Linked DNA regions of Homo sapiens: regions 1, 2 and 3 are each linked to region 4. Evidence: promoter capture Hi-C in 16 types of primary human blood cells and fetal thymus (Javierre and others, 2016). All regions are on one chromosome and are shown on one strand. Each heading gives the region's core, a stretch centred on a gene start or on the middle of the fragment in contact. The rest is flanking DNA. Distances are from core to core; before and after follow the strand shown.

Region 1 (2,700 bases), core at 1-2,500, 1.9 Mb after region 4:
TGAGCACTGAAGGAACCCGGGTCCCATAAGCCCGTGCTTCTATGGGGGCTGCCCCCTCTCCCATCGCAGGGTAACTGGCACCAGGCTGTTAAGCTGTGGATGGGCAACCGCACAGTGCATTGGATGTGAGTATTTCAGTACGTGGAGCTGGCCAGTGGAGCCGGCCGAGGTCAGGCAGAGCGTACAGCAGCGCGCGTGTCCGTGGGGAGGGAGGGTCCTCCCGCCTCCCCGCCTCCCCGCCAGGCCAGTCCTGTTGCGCCTCCTCCTGCCCCACTCTGACTTTCCAGCGCCCAGGCCGGGGCGCCGCCAGGGCGTCTCTGAGGGTCGCGCCCCGATACCTTCCTCCACCCCACGGCTTCTTCCCCCCAAGGGCGGGGCTGGGGGCCCAGGAGCACCACAGCCCCCATGGGCCCGGGAAATGGCAGCTTCGTCATGGCCCAGCCCGCCACGCTCACCTTTTCCCACCACCTGGAGGATCCACTCTCCGTCCGTCCTTCCCGACCTCAGGCTGCAGAGGAAACCTGGGGGCGGGGGTCGAGGAAGCCGAGCCCCGAGGCTCCCAGCGCCGCCCCAGGAGGAATCTTGCGGGCCACTAGAAGCTGTGCGCGCGGCCGGGCTCGGCCCCCACAACGGCCCGAGCGGCCGGGCCTGCCGCGAGCCTCCGCGTCCAGGTGGGGTCTCCGCGCCCCCATTCCACCCCTCCCCGCCATCGGCGCTCCCCGCAACTGCGGGGTTTCCACCCGCCCCGGCGCTCGCGCCCACTCACGGTCTCCCTCGCCCCCCCGGGAGATGCTCCCGGCGTTCTATCCCGCCCCGCCCTGGCGCGCCCCGCAAACGATGTGACCCCGGCCCCCTGCGGTCTCCCCTCCTCCGGACGCTGCCCCTGCCCCACCTGTGGCGCTCCCGTCATCTCTAGAGCCCCCAACCAGAGTCCTCCAGCCCACCCGCGAGGCTCGCGCACCTGCGATGCGGCCCCACTAGCAGGGACCCGCCCACCTGTGGCGCTACCCCTGCCTCTGCCGCCTCCCGCACCGCTAGCGCGGCCCCCACCTACGACGACCCCCGCGTAGATGCTCCTGCCCACACCCGCCCCAGCCCCGGCCCCTGCCCCTAGCCGCGCCCGCGCCCCCTCCCCCGCAGCCCCTCCCATACGCTCGGGCCCCGCCCGTCACCGCCCATTGGCGCTGGGGCCGGGCGGGGGCGCGGGCGGGGCGGCGGTTCCGAGTCAGGCGCGCGCGGGCAGGGTCCCCATTGCCTGCTGCGCACCCGGACGTGCGGCTCCCCTCGGCCTCCTCGCCATGGACGCGGACGACTCCCGGGCCCCCAAGGGCTCCTTGCGGAAGTTCCTGGAGCACCTCTCCGGGGCCGGCAAGGCCATCGGCGTGCTGACCAGCGGCGGGGATGCTCAAGGTGCGCGCCCCCCTCCCGGCGGCGAGGGAGGGACGGACGGACGGAGCTGGGGAGAACCGGGCGAAGGCGATGGGGTGACCGGAGAGAAGAGGGGGGAAGCGATGGGGGGGACCCGGGGAAAGGTGGCGAAGCGATGGGGAGAACCGGGGAGAAGAGCGGGGAAGCGATGGGGAGAACCGGGAAGAAGCCCGCGCCCGGAAGCGGCAGGGGTACCTGCGGGGCGGCATGAGCCGGCGAGGCAGCCCCGGGGTCCTTGCCCGGTGGGGCGGGGGAGGAAGGGACATGGCGGTAGGAACCTCCATCCGGAAGATCAGTGAGTTTTCCACCTTCGGTTTTGTTTTAAATGGAACCTGGCAGAGGGAGTCGCCTGAAGCGCCCTCGGGGGTCGTTCTGCCTCTGAGCTGTAGGACGGGGCCGGGCGTCCCCTCCGAAGCGTGGGTACAGCGCGATCACTTCCTAAGTGCCCCCCCGCCCCCCAACTCCGCCGCACGCCACCCCCTAGAATGTCGAGGAAGAAACGGCTGGGTCCCCGCGCGCCTCCTGTCGCCTCGTGCCCTGCGCGGCGTGGGCGGGGTCCTGGCTGCTGCAATGCGGGACGCGGCGGGGGTGCGCGGGGTTCCCGCCTGGCGTCTCCAGGGCGGTCCGGCAGCCCCTCGCGTTTCCGCTGGGAGATTTTTAAAAAGGGTTTCCTGCGCTCGCATGTGCTGTCGCCTTCCGGCTCGTGACAAAAACGAAAACCAAAATGGGTCCCAGGCCCTCCCCGCCAGCCTCCGCAGACGGGAAGGATCAGGAAGCGGGGACTCCGGGATGTCAGCGGCGCCGCGGCGCGGGCTCCGGGCTTCCCTGCCCTGCAATGTGGAAGCTGCTCTCTAGGAGGGGCCCGAGGCTGGGCCCACGGACGCGGGCGCGCCGGGAGGATATTTAACATTGAAGAGCGGAAGGTGGCGGAGACTCGGCGCGCCCCAGGCCCCGGGTGCACGTGGGGGCGCCGGTGCCCGGATGATGGAGTGTCCCGATCCGTGCAATCCCTGGCGGGTAGATCGGCGCTTCCCAGGCGAACGCAACCTGGGAGCCTTAGCGATCGCGCAGGCTGGAGACGCGGCGCGCCCCGAGCTGGGTTTTGATTTTTGTTTTCCCGGTTCCTCCTGCCGCAGATGCGTGGAAAGGCCCGGATGGCGGATTTCCTCCCGTTTCGGGGCCGCGCACTGCACAGGGTTGGAGCGGGGATGCACCCCCTGCCCACTGCGCGGGTGACCTTCCCTTCGCCCTTGAGCGCGCGGGGCGGGCGCG
Region 2 (2,700 bases), core at 24-2,523, 1.8 Mb after region 4:
GTCTTAGCTTTTTTGGGTTCTTTGAATTTCCAGACACGTTTTGGAAACTGCTTGTTCATTTCTACTGAAAAAAAAATAGAATAAAATAAAATCATGCTGGGATTTTGACTGGAATTGCATTAAACCTGTAGATCCACAAGGGCACAATTGACATCTTAACAATATTGAGCCTGCTGATCCATGAACACAGTATATCACTTCATTTATTTAGTTATTTAATTTATCTCAGCGTCACTGCCTGCTTTTCAGTGTATAGATCTTACACATCTTTTGTCAGATTTAGTCTTAAATATTTCATTTTTTGATGTGCTATAAATAATATTGCTTTGTAAATTTCCATTTCCAATTATTTCATGCCAGTGTATAAAGAGATAAATACTGCTTGTGTGTTGATCTTGTATCTTGCAAACTTTCCAAACTCATTTATTAGTAAGTAATTTATTATTATTAGTTTTAGTGGCTTTTTGTGACTTCAGGAGATTTTCCACATAGGTGATTAGGTCACCTGCAGATACAGATAGTTTTAAATCTTATTTTCTAGTAAAGGTGTGTTTTATATATTTCAACTTGCCTTATTGCACTGGCTAGACTCCAAAACAATGCTGAAAAGCAGTAAGGAAAAAAGCCATCTGGTGGGATGGTAAATACAGCCCTTGTTCTTCCATTTTGACCGGAAGCATCCAGTGTGATCATTTTCTCATTTGATTTTTGTGAGGATTTTTAGGGGTTTTTTTTCTTTATTTTTTAAAAATACACTTTATCTTTTAGGCAGTTTTAGGTTTACAGAAAAATTGAGGGAAAGGTACTGAGAGTCCTTTTATATGCCTTCCGTTCCCCCACATGCACAGCCTCCTCCACTAACAACACTCCTGCCCAGAGGGAGCATTAGTAACAATTGAAGAACCTACATTGACATATTGTCACCCAGAGTCCACAGTTTACATGAGGGCTCACTCTTGGTGCTGGTTCTATGGGTGTAACAAATGTATCATGACATGTATCCACCATCATAGCGTCATACAGAGCAGTTGCACTAAAATCCTAAAAATCCTCCATGTTCCACCTGATCATCTCTCCCTCTTCCCAACACCTGGGAACCACTAATATTTTCACTCCATAGTTTGGCCTTCTTCAGAATGTCCTTTAGTTGGAAGCTTACAGTATTTAGTCTTTTCCGATGGGTATCTTTCGTGTAGTCGTATGTGTTTAAAGTTCCTTCATTTCTTTTCATGACTTGATAGCTCATTTCTTTTCGGTGTTAAAGAATATTCCATTGTCTGGATATATCACATTATTTATCCACTCACCTACTGAAGAATATTTTGGTTTCTTGGTTGCCTCCAAGTTTGAGCAATTATGAATAAAGCTGCTATAAAATTAGCAATTATGAATAAAGCTTCTGTAAACGTCCATGTGCAGGTTTTTCTGTGAACACAAGTTTTCAACTCCTTTGGATAAATGCAATTGCTGGATCACATGTTAAGAGTATATCTAGTGCCCATCAATGATAGACTGGATAAACAAAATGTGGCACGTGTACACCATGGAATACTATGCAACCATAAAAAAGAATGAGTTCTTGTCCTTTACAGGGACAGGGATGAAGCTGGTAACCATCATTCTCAGTAAACTAACACAGGAACAGAAAACCAAACACCACATTTTCTCACTCGTGAGTGGGAGGTGAACAATGAGAACACATGGACACAGGGAGGGGAACATCACACACTGGGGCCTGTTGGGGGGTGGCAGCAAGAGGAGGAAGAGCATTAGGACAAATACTTAATGCATGCAGGGCTTAAAACCTAGATGACAGGTTGATAGGTGCAGCAAACCACCATGGCACATGTATACCTGTGTAACAGACCTGCACATGTATCCCAGAACTTAAAGTAAAATTAAAAAATAAAAAAAAGGCTAGGCGCAGTGGCTCACGCCTGTAATCCCAGCACTTTGGGAGGCCGAGGTGGGCGGATCACGAGGTCAGGAGATCGAGACCATCCTGGCTAACACGGTGAAACCCCATCTCTACCAAAAAAATACAAGAAATTAGCCAGGCGTGGTGGCGGGTGCCTGTAGTCCCAGCTACTCGGGAGGCTGAGGCAGGAGAATGGCGTGAACCTGGGAGGCGGAGCTTGCAGTGAGCCGAGATCGCGCCACTGCACTCCAGCCTGGGCGACAGAGCGAGACTCCGTCTCAAAAAGAAAATAATAATAAATAATAATAATAATGATAAATAAAGAGTATATTTAGTTTGGTAAGACAATGTGATAATTTTACAAACACAAAGTATGTCATACTCACTTCCCCACCTCCCTCAAGTGCTTTCAACAGCGTCCCATTGCTGTTATTAAGAGAAAAAAGCATCTACCATAATCTCCCAGCCCCTTCCTGCCTGCCTTCGTTCTTGTCTTGTCTTGCGCCGCTTTCTCTCTTGCTTACTTCCTTGCACGTGCCTGTTTCCTGCTGCAGGAGGCGTTCTGCATGCACCCCCGTCTCTGTTTAGACTGTGGTGTCCCTACACTCTGCCCCCCTGAACAATCAACCTCTGCTTCTCTCCAGATTGCAAGGGGATCATCCCTTCCAGAATGCATCTGTTTTCTACCTCTCATCCCAAGATACACCAAATTCTTTTACAGCATAAACTTACAGAATCCCACTTCCCTTTCTTTGGTGCACTTTCCTCAATTCTTAATCAGA
Region 3 (2,700 bases), core at 62-2,561, 1.9 Mb after region 4:
TGGGAGCTAAGCTATGAGGATGCAAAGACATACGAATGATATGATGGACTTTGGGGACTCGGCGGGGGGGAAGGTTGGGGTCTGAGGGATAAAAGACTACACCTTGGGTACAGTGTATACTGCTTGGGTGACAGGTGCACTAAAATCTCAGGAATCTCCACTAAAAAATGTGTAAACAAAACTACTTCTACCCCAAAAACTATTGAAAAAAAAAGCATGCCAAGTAAGAAAACAATAAAGTGATGGCAATTCATACCTGAAAGCTGATAACACGGCTGATGACCACTGGCACTGAGGCTGTGTGCTGGTGACTTCAGAAAATCAAGGGTACAACAGCCACCATCTTGGACAGAAAAATCACAGACCAGGATAGGACATGTATGCACCTGCGAGTGCGTATCACCTGTGTATTTTAATAAAATATAAAATACAACATCAGGACCGCCACACAGATGGGACTGTTGTTCAAGAAGCCGGTGATCAAGAGCTGAGCCCATGGAGACTTAAGGAGCAGGTGTTTTTTCCTTTGAGCCCATTGAAGGCTGAGGATACGATATTTCTGCCACCAATAAATAGTTTGTTATTCCATGAATATCTTGGAAGCCATTCTGAAACTGATCAATTCGAGAAAACAAGAGACCGATTACATGTTACAGGGGGGAAAAGTAAATGCAGTAAGACTCACTCACCCTGTGTCTCGCTCAACCAAAGGATGGACATGTCTGATGCATAGAGATACGGCAGTCTATATTTATTGAAGCTGGTAGGATTGGAAAACAAAACAGCATTCAATTATTGACCCAATTGTTTGTGGATGGGGTGGTGATTTCCAGGTCTCTTGTTTGTAGCCACATTTTTTCTATCCCTGTTTGCCTTATTATTAATATTTAATCGATCATTATTAAATAGGTCCTACCAAGTGCTACTAAGAGTCAGGTGCCATCTGTAGTGTTTGGTGTATTTTTTTCTAATTATGTCATTATCCCTACAGGTTGACTTATTTTTATGTCACAGATAAGACAAAGACTCAAAGGAAAGTGACCATGTTTCTGAACTTCGCCCAGCTAATAAGCAGCTGAGCTCAATTCAAACCCAAATCTGGCTCAACAGCCCAAACTCTTTATCCAGAAATTACGTTCTATTACATTTAGAAATATAAAACCAGATCAGGCAGGTGGCTCACACCTGTAATCCTGGCACTCTGGGAGGCCGAGGCAGGCGCATCACTTGAGGTCAGGAGTTCGAGACCAGCCTGGCCAACATGCTGAAACCCCGTCTCTATTAAAAATGCAAAAATTAGCCAGGTGTGGTGGTGTGTGCCTGTAGTTCCAGCTACCCGGGAGGCTGAGACAGGAGAATCGCTTGAACCCAGGAGGTGGAGGTTGCAGTGAGCCATGATCATGTCACTACACTCCAGCCTGGGTGACAGAGTGAGACTCCGTCTCAAAAACAAACAAACCAAAAAAAAAAAAAGAAAGAAATAGAAAACTGACTGCATATCAAGAGGTCCTTAAGAATAACAGCAGAGGCTGTGCTGCAGCCCATGGCCCACGAGCCCAGGGAGGCACAGCCCTGGTGCCATGGACAAATAGGCAGATGGCGTCTCTCTCAGTGTCCTTGTCCAGTGAGTGGGAACACTATGGCACTTTCCTCATGAGGTTATTAGGATGATTACGTAAATTAGAAATGCTAAAGGGCTTGGCGTGGTGCCTGGCACACAGCACAACACTTACAAAAAAAAAATCAGTAAAATAGAAATGTCAGTACAAGAGACAATGCTCACATTGGGATCATGTTACTGAGACCTAGTATTTGCCAGTACCAAACTTCTTTAGGAGAAGATCCCCAGACTGACCAATAGGATTCTAAGTTAGGTCATATTAGGATCTGCCCAGGACTTGCTGGATGTAATTAGTAAAGGTGACCAACTTGGGAGAACAAAAGGTTGTTCGTGGACATTCTTTTACCTTCTATAATAGATAAAGCCTTGTGTTCCTCAGTGCACCCACAGAACTCTTGTGAAAGGAGACTTTAAGGATATAAATTATCTTCTGGATCAAGCATGACTGATTTTTAGAAAAAAGTTTCAACGATGTAAAGGTCAGACATTCATGGTATTCTTGTTCAACAAAGTAGACGCTGAGATACAGTGAAGAGGTATTGTTGGAAGTTCCTCTTTATTGCTATATTATTTTAAATAGTTTTAATAAGAAAATTTGAGGAAACTGAAGTAGTCAAATGAGTCAAAATGCCCGAGTCTTCTGAAGATTAGGAAATCCATGATTCAGGAAAAATAGTGACCCTAATTATTCTCCAGTGGTTTTGGTTCAGCAGTTAATTCCATTTCTCACTGCGATTAAAATAGCTAAAGCTGACAACATGTGCTTTGCATGCCAACTATCTCAACTTCCCCTTCTACAAAAGTAAAACAACCCAAAATTAATAAACAGCAACATTCCAGTGTCCTTCACGATAACATTGAAGCCTGCCCCCTCCTTTAACAGTAACATTGATTGCTCCTATGTCTTGGAGCGTCTTTTCTTAAAAAAAAATTTTAAAAAAAAGTTTGAGTCAAGTCATTCATTTACACATCTGTAGGGGGACTTTTCCTTTCCTTCCACCTCAGTATTTATGGGCCTAATTTATCTATAAACATAGGGACCTCATATCCAGAGAGAACTCCCAGCACCAAAAGATATT
Region 4 (2,700 bases), core at 99-2,598:
CCCCTTCCTTTCCTTTTCCTTCCTTCCTCTCCTCCCCTCTCTTCTTTTCTTTCTTGGAGTCTCACTCTATTGCCCAGGCTGGAGTGCAATGACACAATCTCCGCTCATTGCAACCTCCACCTCCTGGGGTCAAGCGATTCTCCTACCTCAGCCTCCTGAGTAGCTGGGATCACAGGTGCATGCCACCATGCCCGGCTAATTTTTGTATTTTTAATAGAGATGGGGTTTCACCATGCTGGCCAGGCTGGTCTGGAGCTCCGGACCTCGTGATCCGCCTGCCTCAGCCTCCTAAAGTGCTGTGATTACAGGTGTGAGCCACCGCGCCCAGCCTCCTTCACTTTTTTTCAAAAGCGAGAGCACCCTCATGTACACTGGGAGCTCACTTGAGCACCTTGGTGCTTCACCAGTGAAGGAGGGCTTGGGAGCCGCTTTGACCGTCATTAAAATAGCATTTCAATGATAATACATCAAAAATGTAGTAATATGAAAACTGAAAAACTCCAGTGATGTTTCAAAGCAATGCAGTTTAAAAAAACCAATTCAATCCATTAACCAAAATAAACTTGGGGGAAACAACGCATTTTCTATGCTGGCAAGCAGATGGCCAAGACTGCGTCTGTCTGGGGTGAAAATGCAGGTTGCATCCTGTAGGAAGCCAGCATAGGGACGGGCTGCTCACCTCCCAGGGCGGCAAGGCAGCCGCTGACTCCAGCAGGCCTTGAAACCTCCCCTGCAGACGTAAGAGCATCGTCTCAGGCAGCGCGGCCGCCAAGGTCTCACTGTATCATTCCAAAGCGGGCGAATTTCGAAACATCCAGCTGCTGGCAGCAATAGCAGAACCCACCATGAGGCTCCAGGCATTCGGATGCCGCCAGCGAGGCCAGCAAGCCCACCTCTCCCTGAGCTGCAGTTCGGCTTTCTTCCTCCACAAGCAGGGACGTGGCTTCAGGAACCCGCTGGAGGAGACAAGGGGCCTCCGTGGTCTCAGCCCTCGCTTTGCGCATGGGCTCTGGCCTCGGCACCTGGGCATCTCCATCCTCCCGAGGGCAGTCGGAGGCTGAATGTCTTCAACAGGAGCACAGGCAGGAGAGAGAGAGCTCAGATGTGCTCGAGGCCGGGGTCCACCCCTGTTCTCCTGTGAGAGGGAGGCTGTGAAAATCCAGGAGACAACATCAAAGCGTTGTTTTCCAACACACTGGCCTGCGCGCCCTACGCTTTATGCAGATGAGGGATGGCGCAAGCACAGGCCTGCGCGCAGGGCTTTAGGCAGATGAGGGATGACGCAGGCACAGGCCTGAGCGTCGCACGCTTTGCGTAGATGAGGGATGGCGCCGGCGCAGGCCTGAGCGTCGCACGCTTTGCGTAGATGAGGGATGACGCAGGCACAGGCCTGAGCGTCGCACGCTTTGCGTAGATGAGGGATGGCGCCGGCGCAGGCCTGCGCGCCACGCGCTTTAGGTGGATGAGGGATGGCGCAGGTGCAGGCCTGCGCGCCTCACGCTTTATGTACATGAGGGATGAGGCAGCACAGGAATTGGCACAACCTGAAGTCAGCTCTGCAGCTTTCCAAGGTATGAATGCCCGGGGAGCCAGCGCAGACCCCAGCACACCCCCTGGGCCCAGTGTCCCTGGAAAAGGACATTTCAGCTGAGCTAGGAAGGCTGAGAACAGTTTCCAAAGATACCTGTGATTCAGGTCTCCATTTGTGTCCCAAATGAAAGCGAGTGAAATGAAATATATATATATATAGTTTTTGAGGTTTTGACAGACCCTAAGTCATAGTAGTTTAAAGTAGACAAAAACTATTTTCCTCCCCAATGTGAAACTGTTTTAATTAGTGAGGATTAGTTTCAATGGTGAATGATAGAAAACCCCAAATAATAGAGGCCAAAACCCTTGCCATTTGGAGTGTCGTCAGCATTTCAGCAGGAGATGATGTAAGTCACAAGCCCGGGCTCTCTGGTCAGAGCTTGCATTTTGACAAGATCTGCAGGTGACTTATAGGCATGCTAAGCTTTGAAATAAAAGGGGGGTTTACTTCTCTCTCATATTTAAGTCTGGAAATGATCTCCCAACACTCAGTATTTGCCCCAGGAAGTCAGCAAGCCAGGATTTTTTTTTTTCATTTTCCAGCTTCGTTCTGCGTGTCCTGTACTCAACAGTCATCTCATGCTGCAGGGTGGCTGCGTGTGCTCCGTACATCACACCCATATTTCAGGTAGGGACGGTTCCCGGAGGGTGCTCAGCACCATGCCGACTACTGCTGGCTGGCACGTTCGCACGTGGCCATGTCAGCTCCAAGGAGGATGCTGACATCCTGCTGGCTGGCACGTTCGCACGTGTCCATGTTAGCTGCGAGGGCCATGCCGACATCCTGCTGGCTGGCACTTCCACAGGTAGCCATGTTAGCTGAGAGGGCGATGCCAACATCTTGCTGGCTGGCACGTTTGCACGCGGCCATGTTAGCTGCGAGGACAATGCTTCTGCAACTTTTGGTTTCTTCCCTTTCATCCTCCCACCCCTGACCGTTTTTGCCTGGGAGCAAGTGCCTAATAAATTACCTGCACTCAAATCTTTGGCTCAGAGACTTTCCGAGAGAACCCAAGCTGAGGCAGACAATGAAATCAACACTACCAGCCACTTAGCTGCCAGCTGGGTGGAGAGTGGGCTGCTCTTCCAAGACGCTTTTCAGCCTCTGAA

What was found. The method cuts DNA at HindIII sites, captures the fragments that hold promoters and counts their contacts. A CHiCAGO score of 5 or more calls a contact.
Region 1: the fragment with the promoter of PFKP here is called in contact with the fragment with the promoter of LINC00200 in region 4 in 8 of 17 cell types (endothelial precursors, naive B cells, M0 macrophages and 5 more); the score reaches 11.1 in endothelial precursors.
Region 2: a contact is called between a fragment that was not itself captured here and the fragment with the promoter of LINC00200 in region 4, in 1 of 17 cell types (total B cells). The highest score is 5.1, in total B cells.
Region 3: a fragment that was not itself captured here is called in contact with the fragment with the promoter of LINC00200 in region 4 in 1 of 17 cell types (endothelial precursors); the score reaches 7.2 in endothelial precursors.

What each region holds. Positions count from the first base shown.
Region 1 is chr10:3,066,298-3,068,997 of GRCh38, forward strand. It overlaps PFKP (phosphofructokinase, platelet), which reads left to right and starts at 1,251. Exons shown (of 22, transcript NM_002627.5): 1 at 1,251-1,410. The coding sequence starts at 1,299. It overlaps LOC124902536 (wiskott-Aldrich syndrome protein family member 1-like), which reads left to right and starts at 273. Exons shown (of 1, transcript XM_047426132.1): 1 at 273-1,051. The coding sequence starts at 406. The coding sequence ends at 843. PFKP-DT (PFKP divergent transcript) reads right to left here and starts at 636. Exons shown (of 4, transcript NR_160681.1): 1 at 456-636. RefSeq lists silencers at 980-1,079, 1,090-1,489, 1,910-2,089, 2,503-2,683 and an enhancer at 2,290-2,359. The HindIII fragment of the contact is 10,799 bases long and covers 1-2,700 here.
Region 2 is chr10:2,940,064-2,942,763 of GRCh38, forward strand. No RefSeq gene overlaps it. Among named protein-coding and RNA genes, the nearest start is that of PFKP-DT, 130 kb to the right of the region's middle. The HindIII fragment of the contact is 242 bases long and covers 1,153-1,394 here.
Region 3 is chr10:3,032,522-3,035,221 of GRCh38, forward strand. No RefSeq gene overlaps it. Among named protein-coding and RNA genes, the nearest start is that of PFKP-DT, 33 kb to the right of the region's middle. The HindIII fragment of the contact is 4,100 bases long and covers 1-2,700 here.
Region 4 is chr10:1,158,420-1,161,119 of GRCh38, forward strand. LINC00200 (long intergenic non-protein coding RNA 200) reads left to right here and starts at 1,349. Exons shown (of 3, transcript NR_015376.2): 1 at 1,349-1,571; 2 at 2,134-2,218. It overlaps LOC105376344 (a long non-coding RNA gene), which reads right to left and starts at 1,343. Exons shown (of 3, transcript XR_930535.3): 1 at 845-1,343. The HindIII fragment of the contact is 5,498 bases long and covers 1-2,012 here.